2 separate regions of the Homo sapiens genome follow, and region 2 is linked to region 1. Evidence: promoter capture Hi-C in 16 types of primary human blood cells and fetal thymus (Javierre and others, 2016). All regions are on one chromosome and are shown on one strand. The core of a region is centred on a gene start or on the middle of the fragment in contact, and the rest is flanking DNA. Distances in the headings are between cores, read along the strand shown. Region 1 holds the start of FHL5 (four and a half LIM domains 5). Region 2 overlaps KLHL32 (kelch like family member 32).

Region 1 (4,703 bases), core at 300-2,799:
AAATATCTGTCTCTAAATATTCTCTAAATCTCTAAATTTTCTAAACTCTTATTTGTAATATTATAGTAGAAAAGTACCCAGTCTTATGTAAGAAACACAGATTAATTCAGCTTTACTCAAAATGTTGGTAAGTGTAATAAAAATAAGAGGTAAATTTGTCAGTGAGGTGGTGTTATATTAAAACACAAATCTACTACTCTTGCTTAGGTAGAACAGTCCCAGATTTGGCAACTAATAATAATGTGAGAATAAATAGAACAAGTGTAGAAAACAGACACTAGAGTTTACCTTCCCCTTAAAGCAATTTGGATTATGGCTTAAAGCATATATCATAACACATATGTTAAGAAATATCTTGTATGATACATATGTTTGCAATACCTATGTTAAATTTTAATCCATATGCTTTGCTAATAAAAATGCTAGTATTTACACATGATGGTATTGTGGATATAAAATGAGGGCTAAAATGGCTCAAGGATTTCCTTACATTTTATGTATGAGAGCTATGCATTTTGTTAATAATTCTTTTTAGTTTCCAATTTTCTAAAGTCTGAAATGACAGCTGAGGAGCTGCATTTGGTTTTCAAATGAATGATAGGTACCAAAGAGGATATGACTAAAATAGTGAGAGAGAAAGCATTAACACATATGGGATGTATGCTTTTTGCCTGAATAACACTACCTCTGTTTCAAGAAGTAGCACTTTAGATTGATATAGTCTATTATATATTTCTGTGGGCTGGAAACACAGATATTTTAATTTAACCTTAGAAAATTAAAGATTATGAATTTTTGTATGCCCACTTCTGGAAAGTAGGCAGATTTTTCTTGAAAATAGCAGGAATCTCATTAACTCCTTTTACTTAAAACCTGTAAGTGACTTCAAAATGTGCTCTTGAAATATAAATCTAGTCATAAAATATGCTCAGTGATAATGTTATTCATTCAAATAAATTAAGCCAAATAAAATCTCAAGAGCCCTCCTCTTCTTCCTCTTTTTACAACAATAAAGCTATACCCCACATTAAGACCATTAGAAAAACTCAAGAGGCAATTCCAAGGAGTTATCTGGCCCCTATGTTACCTCCACATGCAAGTTATAAGAATGAGAAATCTGAAAAGCTCAGCATATAAAATTTGATAACCTTTAGCTAAAATGGCTAAGAAACTTCAAAAGGCATACACTTTTGCCAAGCAAAAGTTTTCTCTTAAGTAGTTACTGGAAAGTTTATAAAAATTTCTCATCCTTAAAAAAAAATTAGAGAAGTCAAAATACCACAAAACAAAACAAAGGAAATATTTGGGGGAAAGAACTCACTTTGTCTTAAAGCCGCTTCTTCCTGTGATTTAAACAGTACGAAAGGAGAATATATGTTGATTATTTTTCCTCCAATCCACATGCATGTCAACTCCAAAAGGAACAGAAAGTCACCAGCACCATCTGAAGATCCCTTCCAACTGCATGCAGCTTTTTCAACTTTGCAGGAGAAAACAGAAGGGTCCCTGCATTTCCTCCAAGTCTTATACCGTGTACATGACTCCTACTGGGCTGAAAAAGCACTATTTGTCAATTTTTACTTAAAACTATGAGTAACAAATTCTCTGCAGGACATCCTTAAAGGGAAATTCTGCCAGGATTAGCATTCGAAGTATCTGGCTAAGCTCCAAAAAGTTTAAAATACACAATGTTCACACAGACGCATACACACTTGAGAAATTTCCACTAACTAGGCTAAATTAAGGGCATATTTATAAAAATAATACTCTAAAAGGATGATGTATTTTCTGTTTCCTCAATCTGTTTTTGGCTTTGTTTTCTTTGTTTTCTGGTGGTGATCAGAACCCTTCTTTTAGGTTAGAAATGTCTGAACCGCTGAGCTTTTCTTTTGGACATTGTCTCTTAGAATCTCCTTTTGAGGCCATCTGGAAAGGGATGAGGTCCCATGCTCTTACCTGCAAAATTATTGGTACCTTAAGAGATGGCCCCCTGGATTGTGGCCTCTATCTCTCCCTTCTTGGGAAATTGGGGAACTCTGAGACATAAGTTTGAGTAGAATACTCAAGGTAGTTCCCTGCTCTCTGGACTTGCAGTGTGGACTCAGCCTTCCCCGCTCTGCCTGCTTCCTGGTGAGCTGGCCACAATTGTGACATCACATCCATGGCTCTATGACTTCATAAAGCATAAACTCATTGAGTCTTTTGAAATCTTCAAAACACAAAAAGTGGACAGAGATGTCAAGAGTTGGATCTGAAGAAATTTTTGGATATTAAACCAATCCATAATAGGTATCCTCAGTGGGGCACACTGATTCATAAGGCAAGTGACATTTTCTCTTAGAATCTCCATTTGAGGCCATTTCTTCAGTTTGGAAGGCAGGATGAGAGAAGAAATTCTGCCTTAATCCCAGACCAAACTTAAACTGTCCTTGTTCTAACTGCTAAAGGAATGAAATGTTAATATCTTCTAAGGTCAAACTCGGGTATATACAGTCAAAGAACTTGAGCTAGAGAAATGCAGAGCCAGTTAACTGTATGTTTTGTTATTCACTTGACTTTAATGATTAAGACATTATGAAAATGAACATATGGCGACTAACAACAATAAATTTGGATTCAGCAAAAGGACACAAGTATATTTCATTAGTAATAGATTTTAATCCTTAGGACACCATTGCTAAACAGGTACTGCCTGTATTTTCCTTGTTTTATGGGCAAGGAAAGCAGTCCTTGAGATGTAAAAGTGCCTGGGACCATCACCCTCTTTATTTGCTCCCATGCTTCCTGAGAGGGTAATCTACATCCACCAAGTCATTCCAAACCTACTACATTCTGAGCCTTCTTCTCCCTCCCAACTTATTGCAATCTGTCTTTCACTTGAACCGCTCCAAAAAAGCTTCATTAAGATCATATACAACCTTGATTAGCAACCCAAAGAGTATGGTCTTCAGTCTTACCGAAAAATTCTCATCTCTGGCCATGTCTATTTCTTTCTGAAATTATCTTCCCTTGGTTTTGCTATGTTACACCCTTCTGATTTTCTGTTTGCTCTTAGCACCCTCACTTTCTCTCTATTCACCTCACTCTTCCCTAGAGCTTTATCTTCTGTTCAGTATGCTTCTCTGCAGACTTTCCATCACGTTCTTCATCAAAACAATGAACAATTTTATACAACATGACTCCCAAATGTGTACTTTCATCTGATACCACTCTTCAAGGTTCCAGACCTGTATCCCGCTATCTATTAGAAAACCTTGTCTAGGGGTCCCCAGCCATCTCAAACTCAACAGTCCCAAATATCCTTATTGTCTTCTCCCCATTCCAAACTTGTTAGTTTGCTGTATTTCCTACTTCAGGGAATGGCACAATCATCCACCCCTTATGTTAGAGTATTCCCTTTCCTCATTTATCCTCCACCATCCCCATCATTGTCCACCTTCTGTAGGTTCTAGTTTGTTAAATGATCTTTCTCAAATTTGTCCTCACCCCTGCATTCCATGTCTCACATGTCTCACTCAGATTATTCTGTCAGCCATAAAATAACTGGCATCTGCCTCAGCCTGATCCCTTTCTATCCTTCTCTATAGAAAAATATTATTTTTAAATAAGTTTGTTAAATTATAAAATACATGCTTCTTGCAGATAATCTGGAACAGAAACTGGAAAACATATACAGAAAATGTAAAATGTAAAATGATTTGCAATCCAAGACAGCCCAGACCAAATCTTTGTGTACCTCTTTAGGCTTTGTATCATTCATATATTAATGATACAGAGAAATGCTAAAATTTTTTGTAAATATATTGCATAACATAGTTATGCAGTATATTTAGTTAGAAAACCAAGACCACATTGTATATACTTGTAGAAAGTGCGAGATATTTTTCTTTTCCATTACTAGGTTTATGGTTGAGGCCCCTATAAAAAAAGGCAAATTAATAAAAGTATACAAATTATTTAATGTAAGTTTTTATGGGACATGGGAGCCTTTCAGAAATGAAGACTCAAAGCAAGAGATAAACGTGTGTATTTTTATGCTTAGATTTGATGAAGAGTGGATAGTCATGGAAAAGTATGACTGGACAAAGGGGATATAGTCTAATGATTATACACTCGGGGGAACTTAGCAAGGCCTGTTTGTTTAGACTCTTCTTTGTGTTCCTTTCTTCCAGGCATAGGGAGGTCTCTTGAATGAGGGTCTTATGACCTGCCTCGGGAGAGAAGGGTAAAGGGAAGGTGGGAATGATCTTCCTGCTTCTGGAGTTTTCTCAAACACCAAGGTGCCATATTTTAGCGTAGTGCATCCTGAACCCCATTATAAATCTGTATCCTTGTTTTCACTTAATATACTGTAATTTTCCAAGCCAATAAAATATTTTTTATTTTATTATTATACTTTAAGTTCTGGGGTACATGTGCACAACATACAGGTTTGTTACATATGTATACATGTGCCATGTTGGTTTGCTGCACCCATCAACTCATCATTTACATTAGATATTTCTCCTAATACTATCCCTCCCCCAGCCCCTCACCCTACAACAGGCCCCGGTGCGTGGTGTTCCCCTCCCTGTGTCCATGTGTTCTCATTGTTCAACTCCCATTTATCAGTAAGAACATGTGGTGTTTGGTTTTCTCTTCTTGTGTTACTTTGCTGAGAATGATGGTTTCCAGCTTCATCCATGTCCCTGCAAAGGACACAA
Region 2 (4,754 bases), core at 1,173-3,672, 500 kb before region 1:
GCCTGACCTCCAGGTGGTGGAACACAAGGGGCTGTTCTCGAATGAGGGATGTTGGACAGTGCTAGCAGAGAGGTCACCTCTAGTCTCACCTCACCAAGTAATGAGATGATCACATCTCATTACTTGGGTCTGGCCCAGGAACATCTCCTGCAATTTGTAGCAGGCAAGGTCATATGAATAAGGAGAGGGCCACGACTGATTCCCATTCCAAATGCTGAAACTCTACACTCATTTTGGTGGGGATAAGAACCGACCAGTGGCTGTATTTAGGGTGACACAGAATGGTGTGACAAAGTAATAGTGTAAAACCCACAAGTGCAGGAGAAGGGGATGGGTACCTGGTAGGAGAAATTATGTCAGAATTCAGTCATGAGGTGGCCCAATCACCCTCCTGGTAGGAGGCACTCTTGAATACTGTGTGCCAACATGTCCTCTGGTCACCAATCCAAGCAGGGTTGGTAGCAGACAGGAGAATTTGCATGATCTCCAATGAAGACCCTCTAAACTGCAATAAGACTGGGACTCCTGGTCTCCAGGCAGAATATGGGGCCAGAATCCGGTGAAAGAGGAGGAGAATGGGACCTGAGGTGAGATTCTGTATAGAGCATGATGACGTGGGCCACCTCAGTCAGTGCCCACACCTCACATGGGGGCTCTGGGAGGGTGGAGCTGGGACTGAGCGGTGGGAGTAGGGACACCCCACAGTCCCCAGGGCATCCCTGCCCCTCCTTCTTCAGCTCATCCTCCTGGATCATCAGATGTCCACTCTCTCAATTCTGTCTTCTTTTTCTCTTTATTTTCCCTCTCCCTTATACCTAGCCTCTTGGATTGGTGGCTGGTAGGGACTGTCTTTAACAGCCATGGTAAGTCTCAGTGTGACCTTTTTTTTTCTCCTGCCTGTGATCAAGTGAGTTGGCATCTTCAGAAAATTTTGTATCTTCAGATCTTCAAAGCTATCTTCTTCATTTCTTGCATAAGGAGATTTTTTAATTACCTGCTTCTTGGTCTATGTGTACAGTGGACTGAAGGATTTGAGCATGTTAAAATCAGACAACTAAGGTCTTTAGTAAACACACATACCATGTGTGCACATGAACAACACGCTTTTGCAAGCAAAACAAGCGCTTGTACAACTGCAAATTAGAGTGGTCTAATACCATTTATGAGAATAAATGATTACATTTCCTCCCTTCTTTATAGTTTGTTTCTTTGGTATTTTTTTTTTCCTGTATAGTATTACAGAATGGCAAATTATCAGAATCTTGAATTTATAATCATCAAATGAACTGGATACAACAGCATAAATAGCTGTTAAATGATCATATATTCAACACACATAAAATGTTTTGCATAAAGTTATTTATGACAGAATTCTCACAGATGGAACATGAAACACAAGATCTATCTAGCTATGAGAAATTTCTACCAATCTAGTTTTAGTTTCAAAACCACTGCACTAAGGACTTTTTATCCACAAGGTGGCAGCCATTTAAAGGAAAAGAATTTTCTAAATTGACTCATGCACTGCACATCTATATCTGACATCTGAAGTTTATTTTTAAGAAAGAAAAACATAGTTCAGGTAAGGATAATAAAACACATGAATTCCAGTTTCTAAATGTTGTGATCATATTGGGAAATGTTCATAAATATGCCTGTTGAAGTGCTCCATCTGAGCAATACTGGCTAGAATTCAGTAGTTCTCTATGAATCAGAGAATTCAAACTTTTGAGGCTTGTATTTGGAAAACCTCACCATGTAGCCCCAACCTGCTGTTAAAAACTTTTCTCCAGTTTTATGACCTTCTGGTCCCTTTGCTAAAGCCAGTAATCTACTAGTCTCCACACTCAGGCAATACCTTGTTCTCCATCTTCAATGTCCTCCTCATTCCTTTAATTTCCATATGTCAAAATCCTACTCATTTCAAGATCCAACTCTAAATCCACTCCTTATACAAAGCTTGGCAAGATCTCTCCCCACCCCTACCTCATCCTGGGTCTCCACAGACATCTGGTGAACTAATAAGCCCATGTGTTCTAGGTCACGCTGTCTGCTTTCAAATCCTGGCTCCTACACTTGCTGACAGAATCAACTTGGGAGAACAGCTCAACTCCAGGTGCCTCAGTGTTCTTATTTGTACAGTGAAAATAATGATGTCTACCTCAAAAACTGTTTTAAGGACCAAAAGAATGCTTGTGTATCATTACAATTGTGTGTGTCTATATGTAACAAAGCAGCTTAAACAAATATAAGGGTTACTTTTCCAATAACATTTGGATTAGGCCACTTAGAGTGGCAACCAGCCTCCTTGTATTTTCCTGCTTGGCAAATCTCAGGCTGTGGTTTCATGGTCTCAAATTGGCTGCCATACCACCAGGCATTATGTCTACATTCAAAGCAGAAAGAAAGGAGAGGTCAAAGAACAAAAAACATTTGCCAGCTGAGTCTGGCATTGTTTATCAGAAAAACAATAGATTTCTTACAAACACTGTTACAGAGACTTCCATTTACATCTCATTGGCTGGGTGGCTACACATAGCTGTAAAAGAGCCTGGGAAATTAAATTTTTATGGCTAGATGCACCATAGTCCCAAATCAAATTAGAGTTCTATATAAAGAAAAAAGAGGAAATGAATATTGGTAGGCAATCAGGGCATTAGCCATGGGACTTAGCACATATATATATGAGGAAAACTACAAAACTCTGATGAGAGAAATCAAAGAAAAACTAAATAAATGGAAAGATGGCCCATGTCTGTGGATAAAAAGGACTCCATATTGTCAAGATGTCAGTTCTTCCCAACTCAATTTATAGATTCAATGTAATCTTATTCAAAATCCCACAGTTATTTTTTGTGTATTAACAAACAGATTCTAAAGCTTATATGAAGAAGCAAAAGACCCAAAATAGCCAACACGATGTTGAAGGAGAACAAAGTTGGAGGACTGACAATACCCGCTTCAAGACTAAAAAAAACTACAGTTATCAAGACAGTGTGACATTGGCAAAAGAAGAGAGAAACAGATCAATGGAACAGAACAGAGAGCTCAGAAACAGACTCACATAAATATGGTCAATGAAAGAGCATAGATAATATTATAGATAATATAATAATAATGGATAAAAGATAGTCTTTTCAAGAATGGGGCTAGATTAATTGGACACTCACATACAAAAATTGAACCTGGACACAGCTCTCAAATCCTTCACAAAAATAAACTCAAAACGGATTACAGATGTAGATGTAAAATGCAAAACTAGAAAACTCTTACAAGGTAACATAGGAGAAGATCTAGATAACTTTGGGTATGACAATGACTCTTTAGATACAGCACCAAAAACATGGTCCATGAAAGACATAATTGACAACTTGGACTTTTTTAAAATTAAAAACTTCTGCTCCACAAAATACACTATTAGGAAATTGAGAAGACAAGCCATAGGCTAAGAGAAAATATTTGCAACAGATACATCTGCTAAAGGAATGTTATCCAAAATATCAAAAAACAAGATCTTAACACTCAACAATGAAAAAAATGAACCATCTGATTTTTTGAAATGGGGGCGGGAGGGGGGTGTAAAAGATCTGAGCGGATACCTCACCAAAGAAGACAGGTGGCAAATAAGCATATAAAAAGATACTCGGCCGGGCGCGGTGGCTCACGCCTGTAATCCCAGCACTTTGGGAGGCCGAGACGGGCGGATCACGAGGTCAGGAGATCGAGACCATCCTGGCTAACACAGTGAAACCCCGTCTCTACTAAAAATACAAAAATTAGCCGGGCATGGTGGCGCGTGCCTGTAGTCCCAGCTACACAGGAGGCTGAGGCAGGAGAATGGCGTGAACCCGGGAGGCGGAGCTTGCAGTGAGTCGAGATCGCGCCACTGCACTCCAGCCTGGGCGACAGAGCGAAACTCCGTCTCAAAAAAAAAAAAAAAAAAAAAAAAAAAAAGATACTCACATAGGAAAACTGCATTTTTTGTACATATTTTGTTAGATTTACGCCTGTTTAATTTTTGGGGTATTAATTTCTAAAAATAGTTTTAACTTTTTAAAACAGTCCCCCAAACCCAAAAGATGAATAATATGTTGTGATACATGAAAATTATATGAAATTCAAATTTAAGTATAAATAGAGTTTTATTATAACATAGCTATGCTTATTCATTTACATATTTGTCTCTGGCAGTTTTCATGCTACAACAGCTAAGTTGAGTAGTTGCGAAATAAACTTTATTTACTTTTTAAAATAGAGACAGGGTCTTGCTATGTTGCCCAGCCTGGTGTCGAGCTCCGGGGCTCAAACGATCTTTCTGCTTTGGCCTCCCAAAGTGCTGAGACTATGGTCGTGACCCACTGCACCCAGCTGTGACAGAAACTTTATATGGCCTGAATTATTTACTGAATTATTTTTGGCTCCTCACAAAAAAAGTTTGCTGATCCTTGGTCTAGAGTATAGGTAGGGGCTGGGAGTCAATAGCATAAGATAATAGCAAGTTATTTGTCAATACCAAATAACTTGGGTCTGGATGACATCACCAAGGAAGCTAGTTGGATTAAACAGGAGGGTTCTGAAGCAGGAAGGATTTGAAGCCTACAGAGTGGGGAGGAGCAAGCAAAGCCACCTGGAAAGGAGTGACGGGAAGGCTGGTGGTGGCACAGAATAAAAGCCCACAGTGAGCAGTGTTACAAAGGCCAAGAGAGAATAGGCAGGCTGGTGGGCCGGGCCTGGTGGCTCACGTTTGTAATCCC

What was found. Contacts are between HindIII fragments. The CHiCAGO score rates a contact against its expected background, and 5 or more counts as called.
Region 2: a contact is called between a fragment that was not itself captured here and the fragment with the promoter of FHL5 in region 1, in 3 of 17 cell types (total B cells, activated CD4 T cells and naive CD8 T cells). The highest score is 7.6, in total B cells.

Annotation. Positions count from the first base shown.
Region 1 is chr6:96,559,974-96,564,676 of GRCh38, reverse strand. FHL5 (four and a half LIM domains 5) reads right to left here and starts at 1,549. Exons shown (of 6, transcript NM_001322466.2): 1 at 1,322-1,549. The HindIII fragment of the contact is 3,763 bases long and covers 1-2,898 here.
Region 2 is chr6:97,056,373-97,061,126 of GRCh38, reverse strand. All of the region lies in intron 4 of KLHL32 (kelch like family member 32), which reads right to left. Among named protein-coding and RNA genes, the nearest start is that of KLHL32, 130 kb to the right of the region's middle. The HindIII fragment of the contact is 921 bases long and covers 1,962-2,882 here.